Linked DNA regions of Homo sapiens: region 1 is linked to region 2. The links are contacts of gene promoters, found by promoter capture Hi-C in blood cells and fetal thymus (Javierre and others, 2016). All regions are on one chromosome and are shown on one strand. Each heading gives the region's core, a stretch centred on a gene start or on the middle of the fragment in contact. The rest is flanking DNA. Distances are from core to core; before and after follow the strand shown. Region 1 has its middle 6.1 kb from the start of ATP1A1. Region 2 holds the start of ATP1A1-AS1 (ATP1A1 antisense RNA 1).

The links. The method cuts DNA at HindIII sites, captures the fragments that hold promoters and counts their contacts. A CHiCAGO score of 5 or more calls a contact.
Region 1: a contact is called between a fragment that was not itself captured here and the fragment with the promoter of ATP1A1-AS1 in region 2, in 3 of 17 cell types (total CD8 T cells, naive B cells and total B cells). The highest score is 5.4, in total CD8 T cells.

What each region holds. Positions count from the first base shown.
Region 1 is chr1:116,365,607-116,368,604 of GRCh38, forward strand. No RefSeq gene overlaps it. Among named protein-coding and RNA genes, the nearest start is that of ATP1A1, 6.1 kb to the right of the region's middle. The HindIII fragment of the contact is 169 bases long and covers 1,543-1,711 here.
Region 2 is chr1:116,417,172-116,420,191 of GRCh38, forward strand. ATP1A1-AS1 (ATP1A1 antisense RNA 1) reads right to left here and starts at 1,451. Exons shown (of 3, transcript NR_027646.1): 1 at 1,288-1,451. RefSeq lists an enhancer at 1,276-1,570 and a silencer at 1,530-1,659. The HindIII fragment of the contact is 1,476 bases long and covers 581-2,056 here.

The sequences.
Region 1 (2,998 bases), core at 377-2,876, 51 kb before region 2:
TGAGCTTGAGCACTTCTGGTTTATGAGATTAGAGGCAGGGGAGGGAACTGGGTCCCTGGCCTCTGCCAGCTCCCTGCAGCTCCAGCCTGCAGCACTGTATCTGCCTGACTCGGCTGCTTATTCCTGGAGCAGGAGTGACGGTCCTGAAACTCAGCCTCCTCTTGGGTTTGTTCTTAGGAAGCTAGAATAACTCTCTCTCACTAATTAGTGATTGCATTAGCAGATGGTATCTTTTTTTTTTTTTTAAGTAAAAAGGAAAAAGAAGAAAAGGTTTTAAAGGTTTTAAATTGCATTTAGAGACAATGCTTTCTTTCTCCTGAGGAAGCCCGTGCAGTCTAGATCCTGGATATTCAGGCTTCTTATTCTGAAGGTGAAAATCAATCAGCTGGGCTACGGCTCTGACGTTTTAGTGGACTTATTTTCCTGGTCCTCGCCTGAAGTTTGGTAATAACCAGACCAGTTCAGACAGGTGGAGTGCTGACTGACCTCTACCACCCAACTGGGTGCACTTGGCTGGCTGTGTCTCAGTAGACTGGTTCTTTGTTGGATAAAGGAGATTGACGTGGGAAAAGGTGAGCCAGCATAAAGTAAATTCTGTTCTCATTCTCTCCTCCTGTAGACAAATTTTGTAGCTGCCTTCATTCTTCCTTGGACCTTATATCTCCCAGGCTAAGTAGGAATTTGGAATCAAGACGAGATAATTGCTTACCCTCTTTGAACAGTTACTACATGGCAGGCAATGTTCTAGTGCTTTAAGTATATCATGTCAATTGTTTCTCATAGCAGCCCACTGGTAGAGTTACTAAGTTAGATAGTTTTTCTAGATAAAAAGCTTCATGCTTACATACATTGTTTGAAGAAGGTATTTGGTTAGAATCCTGTCATGTGATCAGCTATTTTGGGTCCACCACCTCCATCACCACCATCCCATTACCTCCTACCATCACTTTCATTACCACCACCACCATCTCTGTCTCCACTGTTAACTCTTAACACTGTGTCCATGACCAGACGTCAAATGTTAACAGGGACTTGTCAAAAAAGCAAAAAGCTGAGATGTGTTAGGCAGGGACATCTTTAACTTGAGCTATTTGGACAACTTTTTTTTTTTTTTTTTTTTTTTTTTTTTTGAGGTAGGTCCCACTATATCACTCAGGCTGGTCTTGAATCATTGGTCTCAAGTGACCCTCTCACCTCAGTATTTGGACAATTGAAGCTAAATTTTTCATTAACTTGGTTTCTTCCTTCTTTTCTTTATCTTCTATAATTTCGGTCTTCAAATGTGAGATTGCTTACCAGGCAGCTTAACATTTCTTTAGTCAGTGGAGTTGCATCAAGCACTGGACTCTGAGAGAACTGGAAACCAACAAAGTCCTTGGCCTATTTGGAATTCACCTTAGCAAAAAACACTAGGAAATCAGATAAAATGCCTGAGCCATCCCCGCAAATTGAACTATCTTCTGAGGGCTAGGGAGTTGTATGTTGACCAATTGTTAAAATTATGTCCTAATTCCAGTTTTTCATCATATCCAGCAATTCAAAAGCTTCTGTTCAAGAGAAGTAGTAGATAATAGGGATGGTAATGGGAGTTAAGGCATGCTGCCTGTGTGTGCACAAGAAAAGGAAGAAAATAAAATTAGCATACTATGACAAAAATATACAAGGAGATATAGGTATCTTGAGATTCTGAATTCAATAATGTGATCAGAGAAGCTTTCATAAATGTGCTGGCTATGAAGGCATATCTACTGGAGAAATCTTTCCAAAGCACAAATCTGATCATGCCCTGCCCCTGCTTAGAACCCCACAGTGTCTCCCTATGGCCCATAGGATAAAGTCCAAGCCCTTTGATGGCATCCAAGTCCTCCACAATCTGGACTCTGCTCACCTCTCCAAGCTTACTTCCTGCCGCCATTCCTCTCACAACCTAGGCTCTCGCCATTTTAATCTTCTGGCCAGTCCTCCAACACTCAGTTTGTTTCTGTCCTGAAGACCTTACCCATGTGCTACTTTTGCTTGCATCCTCCTGGTCCTGCCTAACATGCTGCCATTCCGTGAACTCCTAACCATCTTTCACAATCCCAGCCAGGGAAGCCTTTCCCACTCTGCAGACAGAGCTGGCCACTTCCTCCTTCATGCCCCCATGAAGGCCTGCATATATGCAGCACCTCTCACTGTGTTACTAATATCTCTTTGCATGTCTTTTTTTTATGCCAGATGGTGAGCTATTTGAGGGTAGAGAATGTGTCTTAGTTATCTTTATACAACAGCAACAAGCACTGTGCTAGGCTCAGAGTAGATATTCAATAATGTTTATTCTGATTTTTTGCATGAACTAGTTCTTACTTCTGTTAAATACTATACACTACCAGAGTTAAGGATTGGAGTATGCTCTTTATAAGAGGGGGAAAAAAGGGGGAACCCTTCTTAGGGGCTTATTTGTAAGAGTCCACATGTAGAGGTCACCATCGCCAAAATGGAAGCCTCCAGAGTAAAACATAAGCTGTTAAAAATGAATTGAGCTGGTTACTATTTTTGCACCTGACCTACTTTTTGGTTACTTCTGCTGTTGCAAAAACTTCCATTCTTATAAATGAACCAAACCACTTTTTGATGGTTTTGTATTCTCTCCTCTTAAGGTAGCTTTTTACTGAAACAAAAATCTGCACAGTCTCTGAAACCCAGCTTTAATGCAAAGGCATCTATGGAAGAGTATTATTCCCAGTAGGACCAACTTCCAAAGAACTCTCTCAATTGTTTTTCCATGGAAGAGTTTAAGGCCAAGAATAGCAAATCTATCCACCACGATGATGGCACTTATTTCCTTAGTGCTTGTGGTTGTGCCCCCTGGAGAGCAGGAAGGGTTAGATGCCAGTTACCTCCCGCCACCTCTTCCCAGCTTTGGGCTTGCCCTTTCTGAGCTGTAAGGCTGCCTGAAGCTGTGTCTCTGCTGGTTGGATGAAGATGGGACTCTGGCAGTGGAATATTTTTCAGTCCA
Region 2 (3,020 bases), core at 201-2,700:
TAGCTGGTACTACAATTCACTTTTTTTTTTTTGAGACAGGACCTGACTGTCACCCAGGCTGGAGTGCACTGGCATGATTACAGCTCACTGCAGCCTCGACCTGCCAGGCTCAAGCCATCCTCCCACCTCAGCCTCCAGAGTAACTGGGACTACAGGCATGCGCCACCACATCCTGCTAATTTTTATATTTTTTGTAGAGATGGGGTTTTTGCATGTTGCCAGGCTGATTTCAAACTTCTGAGCTCAAGCCATCTGCCTGCCTTGGCCTCCTAAAGTGTTGGGATTATAGGCAAATGAGCCACCACGCCAGCCCACAATTCACTTTAAACACAAGTGAAACACATTTCATTAGACAGTGGAATAGACTTATGTCAATTTTCTTTTCTCTCTTATTTTACACAGTCTGATTTCCTGAAGACAGGAGGCGGGAGTAAGCTAATCAGGCCCTGAGTTAGCTGTTTCCAAGAAGCTTAGAGTGTCCCACTTACCTACGGGTTGCAGGGCCCGCATTGCCAGTAGGGCTGGCTTTTAGGGATGCTGCTGTTGGTGTGTGCTGTACTTGTTTTCTAGGATTGGGACAAGCTTCCTTGAGCTCCTGACTTTAGAGACCAGGTTTGGGAACTGATGGGTGCAGCAAATGCAAACAGACAGCAAACAGGCCAAAGAGGAGATTCATTCACTGAAGAGGGCCCTGGTACAGTACTGTCGAGGTTTTGCGGTGGCCTGGACACGGCTGGCTCCTTCGACTTACACAATATATCTTCTCTCTCTCTTACCTGCACTTATAAGAATCGGTGCTAAGGGTATGTGCCTACCACAGTGCAGCTTGTAGATTAATGAAGAAAGAATTGCTGCCACTTCCCAAATATTAAACGCCAGGTTCTGCCTATGCATATTCTCTCAACCTTCACAACACACCTACTAACTCCAGCTTACAAATGAGGAGACGAACCAGCAGGCTGTTCCAGGCGTCTGGTTGTAAGAGCAGTGGCAGTAGAGAAAATGATTTATTTTAGCACCAGCCACTGTGCTAATCCCTTTAGATATCATCTCATTTAATCCTTTTAACAACCCTGAAGCACCATCCTTATTCTAAAGGGACTTCGGACCTCTCTGCGGTCCACACTGTCCCCTGCTCGGTGCAGGAGTGTAGACTGGGACTGTTCCGTCTGGTGGTCTCCCCGACAAGGGTTCACCTGGAAACTGGCCTTTGGGCTGGGATTGGGACTCTGTACTTAGGCTGGCAGCCCATATTAGGACTGGGCACCGTGATAAGCACTTTCTTACCGCAAATGCACGATTTCACTCGGCCCTCACACACCCCACGAGGTGGGCACCGTCACAGTGCCATCTCACAGGCAAGGAGGCCAGGCCCAGGCCCTGAGGATGCGCCGCTCAGGTGGGAGCTTCCGGGGAGCTCGCGCGACAGCCTGGGGGAGCGCGGATTCGTCTCTGCGCTACGGCGGCTGCAGAGGGTCAACCCGCGGAGGCGGCGCTTCGCGGCGGGTCCTCGGCCTGAGGCTGTGGGATGCCTCCAAACCCGGCGCGGCCTCCGTCTGCAAGGAGAGCAGAGGGTCCCCGCCGGGAGCGCGCCCGGCTGCGGCCCCAGGCGGCCCTGCCCGCAGCCGCCACCTGAGCTTGGGCGCGGCTCCTATCTCCCACCCGCGCGTCGGCCAGTGAAGGGCTCCGTGCTTAAACATCATTCGTTACAGAAGTATTGCGGCCATCACACGGCATTTTAAAAACACGAATGATGATAAATAACTTTAACACTGCTTCCAATTCTGCCTCCAAGCACAGCATCATTACCATTTGCATGCGTTTCACTTCATTCGATTTCCATGTGTATGGATTTGTTTCTACATAGCTGTGGTAAAACGCACATACTAAACTGAATCCAGGGTTGTTTTCCACTTTGTAACATGAACATTTTCACCGTGTTAGTACTGACGCTTCCTACCTATAATTTTTAATGGCAGGACTTTAAAAAATTGGGTTGATACGCTGTCACTTCTCTGAGCATCTCGCAAATGTTCAACATTCAAGTGGCTTCCAAAGCTTCACGATTATAAATTATTCATTCTTTTTTGTTTTGTTTGGTTGTTTGTTTGTTTGTTTGTTTGTTTTTTGAGACGATGTCTCGCTCTTGTCGCCCAGGCTGGAGTGCAGTGGCGCGATCTCAGCTCACTGCAACCTTCGCCTTCCAGGTTCAAGAGATTCTCCTGCCTCAGCCTCCTGAGTAGCTGAGATTACGGGCATCTGCCACCACGCCCACCTAATTTTTGTACTTTCAGTAGAGACGGGGTTTCATCATGTTGGCCAGGCTGGTCTCGAACTTCTGACCTCAGGTGCTTCTCCCTCGACCCGGCCTCGGCCTCCCAAAGTGCTGGGATTACAGCACTTTGCTGCCCAGCCCATTCTTGTGTATAAAGTCCTTTCAGTATTGAGATCAGTTTCCTTAGGTTATATTCACAGGAGTGAAACTGCTAAGTCAGAATGTGAGCATTTAAAAGCTTTCAGTATTATTGCCAAATGGCTTTTCACAGATGACTCAGGGAGGTTTTGGTACTTGGAACACTGCTACTTATATCCCACTCCCCCCCCCCCCCACCAGGAAAACATCTAAAGTGCACTTTTTTTTTTTTTTTTTTTTTTTTTGTGAGACGGTATCTCGCTCTGTCGCCCAGGCTGGAGTGCAGTGGCGCGATCTCCGTTCACTGCAAGCTCCGCCTCCCAGGTTCACGCCATTCTCCTGCCTCAGCCTCCTGAGTAGCTGGGACTACAGGCGCCCGCCACCACGCCCGGCTAATTTTTGTGTTTTTAGTAGAGACGGGGTTTCACCGTGTTAGCCAGGATGGTCTGGATCTCTGACCTTGTGATCCGCCCGCCTCGGCCTCCCAAAGTGCTGGGATTACAGGCGTGAGCCACCGCGCCCGGCTAAAATGCAGTTTCATTAAGAGATAGTGACCCTTTCTGAGAGTGTCTACATTTAATTGGGATCAGAGCTTGAAGTTGAAAAT